2 separate regions of the Homo sapiens genome follow, and region 1 is linked to region 2. Evidence: promoter capture Hi-C in human tissues and cell types (Jung and others, 2019). All regions are on one chromosome and are shown on one strand. Each heading gives the region's core, a stretch centred on a gene start or on the middle of the fragment in contact. The rest is flanking DNA. Distances are from core to core; before and after follow the strand shown. Region 1 has its middle 27 kb from the start of CSRNP3. Region 2 holds the start of GALNT3 (polypeptide N-acetylgalactosaminyltransferase 3).

Region 1 (5,625 bases), core at 825-3,324, 350 kb after region 2:
ATCACAAATGTTCTTAATGGTCTGTAGAATGGTGAAATTTTTTCCTGAAGACTTTCAATTTGTTTACCCCAGTTCCATTAGAGGAATCACTATTTATGGCAGCTGTAGCCTTACAAACTGTGTTTCCTTAAGAGTAACACTTGAATGTCAAAATTACTTCTTGAGTCATGAGCTGCAGAATGTATGTTGTGTTAGCAGGCATGAAACAACATTAATCTTGTTCATCTCCATCAGAGCTCTTGAGTGACTATGTGCATTGATAATAAGCAGTAATATTTGAAAGAGATCTTTTTTTTCTGAGCAGTAGGTCTCAATATGAGCCTAAAATATTCAGTAAAACATGTGTAAACAGATGTGTTGTCATTCAGGCTTTGTTGTCCCAATTATAGAGTCTGGGTAGAGTAAATTTAGTATAATTATTAAGGGCCCTAGGTTTGGGGAATGACAAATGAGTACTAATTTCATCTTAAAGTCACCAGCTATACTAACTCCTAGTAAGAGAGTCAACCTGTCCTTTGAAGATTTGAAGCCAGGCATTGACTTCTCTCTGGCTGTGAAAGTCCTAGATGGCATCTTCTTCCAACAGAAGGCTGTTTCATCTACATTGAAAATCTGTTGTTTAGTGTAGCCACCTTCATCAATGGTCTTAGCTAGATCTTCTGGATAACTTGCTGAAGCTCCTCCATCAACACTTGCTGCTTCCCCTTGCATTTCTATGGTATAGAGACAGCTTCTTTCCTTAAACCTCATGAACCCACTTCTGCTAGCTTCCAACTTTTCTTCTGCAGCTTCCTCGCCTCTCTCAGCCTTCACAGAATTGAAGAGACTTAGGGCCTTGTTCCAGTTTAGGCTTTGGCTTAAGGGAATGTTGTGGCTGTTTTATCTTCTATCTAGACAACTACAACTTCCTCCGTATCAGCAATAAAGCTGTTTCGCTTTGTATTTATTTATTCGCTTCGTTATTATTCATGTGCTCGCTGGAGTAGTACTTTTAATTACCTTCAGGAACTTTTCCTTTGCATTCACAACTTGGCTAACTGCTTGGCACAACAGGCCTAGCTTTTGGCCTATCTTGGCTTTCCACACTGCCATCTTCACTAAGCTTCATCTTTTCTAGCTTTTGATTTAGAGTAAGAGACATGCAACTCTTCCTTTCACTTGAACACTTATAAGCCACTGTGGCCTCATTTCAACATTATTGTGTCTCAGAGAACAGGGAGGCTGAAGAGAGGAAGAGAGATGGGAGAAGGGCCAGTCAGTGGGGCAGTAAAAACACACACCTTTCTGGATTCACTTTGCTGTCTTCCATGGGCATGGTTTGTGGTGTCCAAAACAATTACAATAGTAACTTCATAGATCAACGGCCACAGATCACCATAACCGATATAGTAATAATGAAAGAGCCTAAATATTGCCAGAAACACCAAAATGTGACACAGAGACCCAAAGTGAGCATATGCTATTTGTTACCACAAACCTTCAATTTGTTAAAAAATGCAATAGAAATGAAGCACAATAAAATGAAGTATGCCTATAGGAAGTTTACTTCTCATAAGAATGATCTGGTTTATACTAACAAAGGTCTATTAAAAGTTTCTTGAGTCTTTAGAAAAAGGGTGCTTTAAATGCAGAAAGCAAAATGCAATGTAATAATATAAGCACAAGGAAAGAGATTATTCTTGCAATTTGCTTATGTAATTTTCTCTCTCTCTCTGAATTACGGGTAGTCTCTAAGGCATTCATCAGATAATAATCTGGTAGAAGAAATACAGAATATACCGATTCTCTTCCATTAGCAAAACCCTACCTGAAAGCTGAATATTGTATTGCAATTAGATATTATTACACTGCCTGCCTCTCAGGTGTCAGACCTTACCACCTACTCAAACAAAACCTTCTTGTCACTTCCTGACCCATAAACACAAATGCTTTCATTACATGATCAAAGCTGTGAAACAACTCCCAGACACTTCATCCTCACACAGGATGTGCTTTCAAACTTCCCTCCTGACTTGTTAAGGAAATAGCTACATCAAATCACAAACATCTAAGATTGAAGAGCACTGAAATGTTTGTTTGATATCCAGGATGATTTTAGGCAAGCTTTTATGTCAGTTTGAACTTTAGTTCCTTCATCTGTGAAATAAGAGTTTGGTCTAACCATTCTTGGGAAACTGTTATCTCATTGGCTAATTTTGTCCTGCAGATATGTTTTATTTGACCGGCAGTGCTTTTTTGTATGCATCTGTGGCCAACATTTAAAAATTAGAATGTTTATATAAAAGCCCATTTCTGGATTCTCTTTTAAACATTGGTAGATCTGGCCTACATTCTCCCTTGGCAACAATTAGCTGGAGCTGAGTCTTTACTGCTCATCCTCTTTAGACAGGGATTGTGCTCTCTAAGACATCAGAAGCCACAGCAAGTCCATGAATTGTAGTGTTGCGTGGCCCCAGGAGCACTAGAAATTGTGCTAGAAATCTATAATCTAATAACTTCTTCTATCTCTTCCAATTCTGAAATCCTATGGTTCTCTTTTTCCTAAAAGCCTAACACGTACTGCTGAGATAAGCGGAGGAGGATGTAAAGGGATAGAACAGAATAAAGAAAGAGGGGAATTCTAGACTTCCTCTCTGACTCTCTGACAGGGTATGGATGTAAAATCTCTCTTGAATAAGCAGATTTAATCCTTTCAAAATTTGATCCATAATTTCAGAGGGGGTGGAGGGTGAGAAAACATACAAACACTACCATCATATTTACCAGATGATGTGGAATTGAAAATAACACCAAAGCAGAAAAATAGCTACTAAATTTTATTTTTGTTATTTTTTAAATTTATTTACTTATTTTTTAAGAGAGATGTGGTCTCACTATGTTGCCCAGGCTGGTCTCAAACTCCTGAGCTCAAGTGATCTTCCCACCTCAGCCTCCCAAAGTGCTGGGGTTACAGGCATGAGCCACCACGCCCAGTTATTTTTAAAATTTAGATTTGTTCTCTTTCAAATTATAAAAACTCATCCATATTAATTTTAGAATATTTGAAAATTCAAAAATGTATAAAATAGTACCAGGTTAGCATCCATTCAATTCAAATCCTAAGGATAATATATATGTATATCATATTTATGTGTGTGTATATATATAATATGTATTGCTTAAACCTGCAAGCTATGGTTTAAGCATTAGGCTTACAAATTGTGGTACTATAGTTTGAATTTACAGGGGATAAAGTGGTTTTATTCAATTGATTATAACAAGCATTAATACACACTTACAAGGTACTAGAAGGGATACAAAGACAAACCAAGAAAATAATATTGGGCTTCTGGAGGCACAAAATCTATGATGGGAGAATAATACAAGTACACATACCACTAATGCAAAGCAAAAGGAGGCAAAAAGAAAATTATCAAATACAATAATTATTTGGTCTGTAATTCAGAGAAGCTTGCCAATGAAATAATGGAAAAAAAATTATTTTCCAAACAGTTTTAAAGAAATTCAAAATTTCACCATTATGCCAAATAGCACAATTCAAAAAATAAAAATATTGACTAAAATGAAAAAAAAAGCCTGTTATTGAAATGCATGTATATGATTATAATTAATCAAAATTATTCTAAGATAAAAAATTAAGTATTGTGAAGATAAGTAGAAAATAGAGCCCCTGCCTACTCACTGTTTGTGTAAAAGAAATGAAACGAGGTTTCATAGCTTACTGGATGAACATTGTGCTTTCTCCCAGGCTTCATGGGGCCTAGCACTGAAAGTAGTTACCATAATTTAAAATACCTCTGTTTGAAAGATGTTTATTCTCCCATAGATCATAAACCAACCAGAATATGATTTCAGTGTGTTATGAATAATACTTGAAAGAATTTTTTTGTTTTTGTTTTTGATCCATAATTTGTTTTGATCCATAATTTCAGAGGGGTGGAAGGTGAGAAAACATACAAACACCACCACAGTATTTACCAGACGATGTGGAATCGAAAATAATACCAAAGCAGAAAGAGTTACCAAATTTTATATTTTTTTATTTTTAAAATTTACTTTTTAAATAGAGATGTGGTCTCATTATGTTGCCCAAGCTGGTCTCGAACTCCTGGCCTCAGGTGATCTTCCCACCTTTTTTAGAGACAGGGTCTTGCTCTGTCATCCAAGCTGGAGTACAGTGGTGGGATCATAGTTCACTGTAGCCTCAAACTCCTGAGCTCAAGCAATCCTCCTGCCTAAGCCTTCCAAGTAGCTAGGACAACAGGTGCGTGCCACCATACCCCATTCTTTTTTTTTTAAACTTTTGGTAAAGGTGGGGTCTCACATGTTTCCCAGACTGGTCTCAAACTTCTGGGCTCAAACAATCCTCCCGCCTTGTACTCTCAAAGTGCTGGGATTACAGGCGTGAGCCTCCACACCTCACCTGACAGAAAAATTATCATGTCTAAATACACACTTGCAAGGGAAAAAAAATTCTCCTGGTTTAATTTAAAAATGATAATTGGTTTATTTTTCAAAGGACCTTAATTCTGAAAATGTTTTGCTATAGTATATTTGTATATGTAAAACCTAATGATAGCCTCAATAACTTCCCAAATGAAATTACAATTAGATGCCATGTATTCTGTTTGCAAGTCTACAATGTTATTAAATTATTATTGCCTTGCAAATTAATACTTGCTTTCATTTGTAAGTGACCAAGAGGAAAACAGGCTCAAAATGAATGTCAAACAGTAAATACAAATCACTAAAATTTATGGCTATTTTTCCCTAGAATCTTTTTCTCGTACTTGAAAAATACAACTTATACTAATAATAAAACATTTTTCCTAGCTTTTTATAGTTTTAAAGACTGATATGCTTGCCACAGGATTTTTATTTGTCCAGAAAACTAAGTGGAAATAAGACACTGTCCACCAGATAAAACATGGATAATAAATGTAATCCTTCACATTTACTGCTGATCTATCAAATGTACAGTTGTCAACCTAATCAATTCCTTTGATGGATCAACATTTCCATTACTAAGAGAAAACGTATACCTCTGAGCTGTGTATTATTCTCTGCAGACACAAAAAAATGAGGTTGTCATGGCAACTGCAAACTGTGGAGATTCTGTCATGACCCAGTAGCAGTATAATGGAAAACATCTGCCTGGAAATCACAAGCTGGCACAAGGTCTTTGGAAGGAAGTATTTGAGAGAATTTAACCTTAAAAGATTTCCTCAGTTTTGATCTCAGACTCTCTTACTGCAAACATGTAAAATGTTGCTATTCTTGCCAACATCTGCAGCACACAACATAAAGGAAAACACACAGAGAAAAGGTGACTTTTTTCATTGCCAGTATTGCATCTATTGAGGAATTTAGTTCTTAAACATGAAATTATTTATTATAAACTCTCTCTTGGTACCCCCCTCTCCAAAGCAGAGCAATTATTTTCACTATTTGACCCAAACCAATTGTCTCAAACTGAAGCTTATGCCAGGGTTTGTTAAAACACAGATTCCTGGGCCCTACCTCCAAAGTAGGTTGGAGTGGGGTCTGAGAATCAGTATTTCTAAAGTTCTCAGATTGCTGCCAGCCCATTAACCACATTTTGAGAGCCACAGATTTACACCAAGA
Region 2 (5,546 bases), core at 1,604-4,103:
TTTCAAATCCATGCAAATGAGCATTTTGTGGCTAGTCGTGTGTGTGTGTGTGTGTGTGTGTGTGTGTGTGTAATAAGTACGTGTGTGTGTGTGAGAGAGAGAGAGAGAGAATGTTTGTTTCCTTCCTGTGTAAAATCTGCCCAGTTTTCTATCTTAACTGTCATTATATGTCAAACATATACTATTAAAATTAGCTTATTTCTGAAGCATGTCTACACTAAGGTTCCTGGATTTTATTTATGATGAAATGCTAATTTCTCTTTATGAAACAAATTCTTTATTTCATAATTTTGAATAGGATGGTACTTTCAAAAACCTGCATCTGATTAGATTTGGGGCATTAAATATTTCAATATGATAATATTTTTTTCTTGGGCCTGCAGCATTTTAATTTTATTGTCACATAGAAAATTTTTTATTAATATTAAGACTTTGCTTTCAGAATGCTTTGAAATAGTACAAGCAACGTTGTGTAAAATAGTACAGGTGGAGCATCCCTAATCCACAGATCCAAAATCTGAAATGTTCCAAAATTCAAAACTTTTTGAGCACCAACATGACACCACAAGTTGAAAATTCCACACATAAGTACTTTACACAAACTTTGTTTCATGCATAAAATTATTTACAATGTTTTATAAAATTACCTTAAGGCTATGTGTATAAGGTGTATATGAAACATAAATGAATTTTGTGTTTAGACAGGTCTCATCCCCAAGATATCTCTCTCTCTCTCTCTCTCACTCTCTCTCACTCTCTCTCTTTCTCTCTCTCTATATATATGACACTCAACGTGCACAAGTAATGCCACACTCAGAAAAACTGCTTCCTTCTTTAAATTGTCTGTCTCCATTGTAAAACTGACAGTCAAATTTTAGTAACTCCTGATCTTTTTTGTTTCTTCTGTTCTTTTTAGACTCCTCATCCAGCATTTTGGTCCTGTTTGCTGGCTCTCTCTTTTAATAGGTCTACCCTAGCTTCTCTTTTCAGTTGTTATTTGACGTTACTAGTCTTGCTGTCAATGCATCTCAGTCCTTGGATTCCAGATTGTTATTCTATATCCATCTGCTCTGTCCTGATTGTCAGTGAAAAGTGTTGCTCTTCGCCTGGTGGGACATCAAAACTCTGACAATCTTTGGCTCTTCATTCAGAGATGGGTGGTGCGTGCAAAAGGGTACAGGTTTCTTGGTTATACATTTAGGATACCTTACAAATTTTCCAAAGACTAACATTAACCTCTGGTTAGGGGTAAACGACAAAGTGGCACAACGAAGAAGAAGGAGAAGGAGAAGAGAATTTCAGTAGTTAGTATTTTCAGTTCTGGACCTGGACCTAAGGAAAAACACTGCCAAGTTAGTATATCAATACACACAAGTATCTCCTGAACTATTTTTTTGTTTGTTTGTTTTTGGAGGGAAAGGGAGCTTGGCAATTGCTTGTAGGTACTGATATTAAAATGTTGCAAATACATGGAGGTTCCTTGGTGCTCGCAAAATAACCATGACATGTAAAACAAGCAAAGAACTACCTAGTTTACTAAAGTCTTAAACCCTAACTCATAGATGTCCTAGTATAAAATAGCACTATGGATGCTAAAACCAATGTCTTAGAGTAGTCAAATACTAAAGATACACTTGTTGATACTATACTAAACTGTATTTTAAACCTTATTTTTAGGTCACGCATAGCACTAATAAAACAGTGAATAAGCACCATAAGAGCATGTCAAAATGTAGGAGGAAGGCCACAACTAAACTTCATAGTAAAACCTACCACCATGTGATTAAACACGACACCAAAAAGTTTTTAGCTAGTTTTCTATTTATATCCCTAGATATCTTTGGGATAGGGCCAAAGAAATGAGTTCATAGAAAGGTATAAAGGCCATTTTAAGTCCTGGTTTTGGGTGTGTCAATGTTTGTTGCAGCAGCAGAAGGAAGGCTGAAACAGAAAGTTGTGTCATAAATGGAACAAATACTGTTTAACAATTTTTTTTTGTCTTAAAAACAGCAAAACCCACCATCTTCCTGGAGTCTGCGTTGTTCTCTTCCAGAATAGATGTTGAGCTTTTAAACAAACCTGCAGTAGAAGCAAGCCCTCTCCAGGAAATCCCAATCTCTTTCCAAACAGGGACAGCAAAGGTTCTCTCTGTTGTGGCTGTTTTTCCCTCTCTTCTGGGAATTGGTTTGCCTTCTGAGAGCATCCCAGGAAGGGGAGGTGCGCCCCAAATTGGCGAGGCTCTGCCAAATACCAAAGGCTCTTCTTTGGAAGAAGACTCCTCCTTTGGACGTGAGGCGCCCCTACCAGAGCGCCCGCGTACAGAAACGGAAACCACTAGCTGCGCTGAAGTGAGTCAAGTGATGAAATCAAGACTACACGGGAAGGAAGCTCACGAAACCTAACTGGTGACAGAAGCTGCTGAACCCTGCCCGAAGAAACCACATGAGCCAGCAGTTGCTGCCCTCCCGAAGTGGTCCTCGGAGGCAGCGCACCCCTTCATTTTGGCGAACCGAGGAGGAAGGGAGGAACCGTGTGGGGGAAATCTAGAACTTCTGGTTCCCCAAGGACCCAGCAGACTGTGTTCTGGCTACAAGGTGATCACTGCCACCAGGTCAGTGCAGGATTCCTCCAATGTAGATGGGCCGGGAGCCACAACTTGCGCGGAGCAGCAGCCTCGCCGACCACTCAGAGAGAAGCCGCGCGACAGCCAGGCTTGGCCCGGACGGCGCCCCCACCCTGCGCGCGCGATCCAAGGTTCTCACCTGGAGCGCTCAGGTAGGGCTGGGGCGGGGCGGGAGGCTGGCGCGCAGGCGCGGAAGTGGGGCCTCGCCCCTGCCGACGTCGCAGGCTGGAGCTCACCTGGGAGACTCCAAGTGGAAGCCGAGCCTCGGTTCTGCCTCTCCAGGCAACGCGGGAGGCCCAGCGGGAAGGCAGGAGGCGGCGGCGGAGGAGGAGCTCTACTGAGCCGCAACTGTGGCGACAGCAACCGGAGTCGCAGCCGCCGCCACCTGCACCTGGCGCCTAGCCCACGTCCAGCGCCTGCCCGGCCGCCGCTTCCCGCCACCCTGCCCTGCCCACCCGCCAGGTAAGCCGGCGGCAGGCGGAGGGAGACGCGGTACCCCTGGGCTGCGTTAGAGCAGGCGGGAGGACGGCCGCAGGGGTTCACGTGTTGGGGACAGGGCTACGGTCCAGGTGGCCGGTTGGAGACGGTCTCGAGAGCAGTGTGTCGGTTGCCCCTGGAGAGATCCCGAAAGGGGCGCCCTGGGCCAAGGGGCAGGTGGCGCCTCGGGGGGGAGCCCGGTCACACCCTCTCGCCCACGGTGCCCCCGCCAGTCCCTATGGGGCGGCCCCTGAGGAGCTGGACGGAGACCAAAGACCTGGTGGCCCCGGACTTGCCCTTGGGAGGGTCGCAGCGTGGGGACCCTGAGAGGGAGGGCCCGGCGGGAGGCGGGCGCGCTTCCACTCCGGCTAGCAGGTTGCCTGTCTCCTCCAGCCTCTCTGCCCGAGAGGACATCCCGCGACAGCGAAAGACATGGCTTTGCCAGGCAACTTTCCTAGCCGGGGACCCCAAACAGTTCTAGGCTGCAAACCGCGGCCGCCGAGCCATTTAAATGGTTTCCGAGTGGTTTGGAAAGGGCTCTGTGGCCGGGACGCGGACACCCCTCTCTCTCTGTTTCGACTCTGCACTTTTCCGGGTGCGCTCTCCAGGCCAGAGTTGGGCCCACTTTCCTGATCAATGGAGAAGAGTTCTTTTCTTCCGTGGCGGGAAGAAATCCAACTGCCACGCACCAACCACTCACCATCTCGTTAGAGGACCTGTTGACTTAAGGACCTGCATATCGCGGCTATGGTTTGCCTGTGGCATATGACTCAAAGGTTCAAAAAAACATTGTTTCAGGATCCTGCCACGTCTAAGCTTGGGTGTGCCAGGCCCAGATTCCTTTCCCTGCCTAATTAGGCTTTTCTGAAGCCTAAGAATTGAGGGTGAAACTGGCGCTTACCTTAGACTTTTATTTCCTTCTCTTTCCAACTCATCAAAGAAACTATTTCTGTTTTAAGAACCCCATCGAGTTACCAATATTTCCGATTCTTGAAAACGTTAACATAACTTGCTATAGAAGTTACACTACATAATGAAGACATTTACAGTCAAATTCTATAGCTAAAAAATATTAAAGTGACAGCATTTTAATTAGAAAATCTCTGCTTGTGGGAAAATCTGTTGCTTCTTTTATTGTATATATTTTTCTTTGCGTTTGTGGCTAAAATCCATGAGGTTAAAGTCACACGCTGCCATTAGATTCTTTTTTTTAATTTAACTTTTAATATCTGAAATCTAGTGCACATGTTAAACTTTCCAAGCAATTTGTACCGAGAATCAATCTTTATATATTGCTTTAACCAACATTTTTACGTAGAAGTTTCTGATAATAATAACAATTCCATTGTTTTGTTCTATCTCCACACATTTTAAAAATATTTTTTAAATTGCACGTTTTACTTAAAATGCCTGATGCAACATGTAGTGGGGTTATTTTTCTTCTTCTTTTTAAGATTAGATGGAAATCTAAAAGCCAACCACAGCATAACATGATGTAATTATTAATTCAATCACCACTTTTCTACATTTCTTAAAAGGATCTCACCTGACCTCTTAATCTTGTCTCCATACAGAGAAACAAATGTGCTAAATACTGTTTAAATATGAGATATAGGAGTTGTTCCCTGAATTTTGAATATTAGTCTTCATTACTTACTAGGCAGATGTTACCAGACTGTCTTTCCTCTTAACCTCTAGTGAGAAATGTAACATGTTTTCATTAGCTAGAGTAACAGTGTAACTTAATCTATCTGTTAAATAGGAAAAATAATACTTTCCTAGATTAAGATAACAAAACCTTAAAAACAATCAGGAGTATCTTCCAGCCCTAGCATTCTCGAGATCCCTTTCTCACTTTGGAGATTCAATACTCAAACCATCCATTTATGAAAAATTGAAGCCAAGAGAGGTATTCTAACTTCATTTCACTCAGAGATGGCATGATCATTCCAGTGGCTTGACTCATGACTCCTGTATCTTACTTTTCACCACCCACATCCTCACTTACCATAAGATGTTTATCTTTTTTCTTTCATATAATTTGTAAGGCCTTTGTAATTACAGAATTGTCCATTGCTCTTTCTTCACTCTGATTTACCCTCATTTCTACTTGTCCAAATATTGCCTGACTTCGTGGAAACTACCCAGTGAAGGCATCATGCTCCTCTCATTGTGGAATAGCATGCATATTGATGATGCCATGTCAGTTGAGACTTTTAGTTCCTTCTTGGTATTTCCAAGCCACAGTTAATTTTTTAAGTCAATGTGGATAACATTATTTAGTCTTCTGATCTTTTTATTATATTGGCTTAAAATATATTTTATGAGGCAGCTACCCAGTGCCTTTCATCCATTTGCAACACTCCAGATTTTTTATTTCAAGCACACTTCCTTAACACTAAGTTTCTTTAAACTTTTTTTTCCTTTTACTGCAATCCTCAATAAC

The links. Contacts are between HindIII fragments. The study calls those that stand out against the background at their distance.
Region 1: a contact is called between a fragment that was not itself captured here and the fragment with the promoter of GALNT3 in region 2, in 2 of the 25 tissues and cell types used here (H1 embryonic stem cells and dorsolateral prefrontal cortex).

Annotation. Positions count from the first base shown.
Region 1 is chr2:165,440,028-165,445,652 of GRCh38, reverse strand. No RefSeq gene overlaps it. Among named protein-coding and RNA genes, the nearest start is that of CSRNP3, 27 kb to the left of the region's middle. The HindIII fragment of the contact is 4,781 bases long and covers 1-4,464 here.
Region 2 is chr2:165,791,554-165,797,099 of GRCh38, reverse strand. It overlaps GALNT3 (polypeptide N-acetylgalactosaminyltransferase 3), which reads left to right and starts at 2,853. Exons shown (of 11, transcript NM_004482.4): 1 at 2,853-3,085. LOC124906086 reads right to left here and starts at 3,514. Exons shown (of 6, transcript XM_047446887.1): 1 at 3,308-3,514; 2 at 2,763-3,181; 3 at 2,021-2,300. The coding sequence starts at 3,514. RefSeq lists silencers at 2,911-3,060, 3,131-3,220 and enhancers at 2,291-3,196, 3,197-4,103. The HindIII fragment of the contact is 8,213 bases long and covers 1-5,546 here.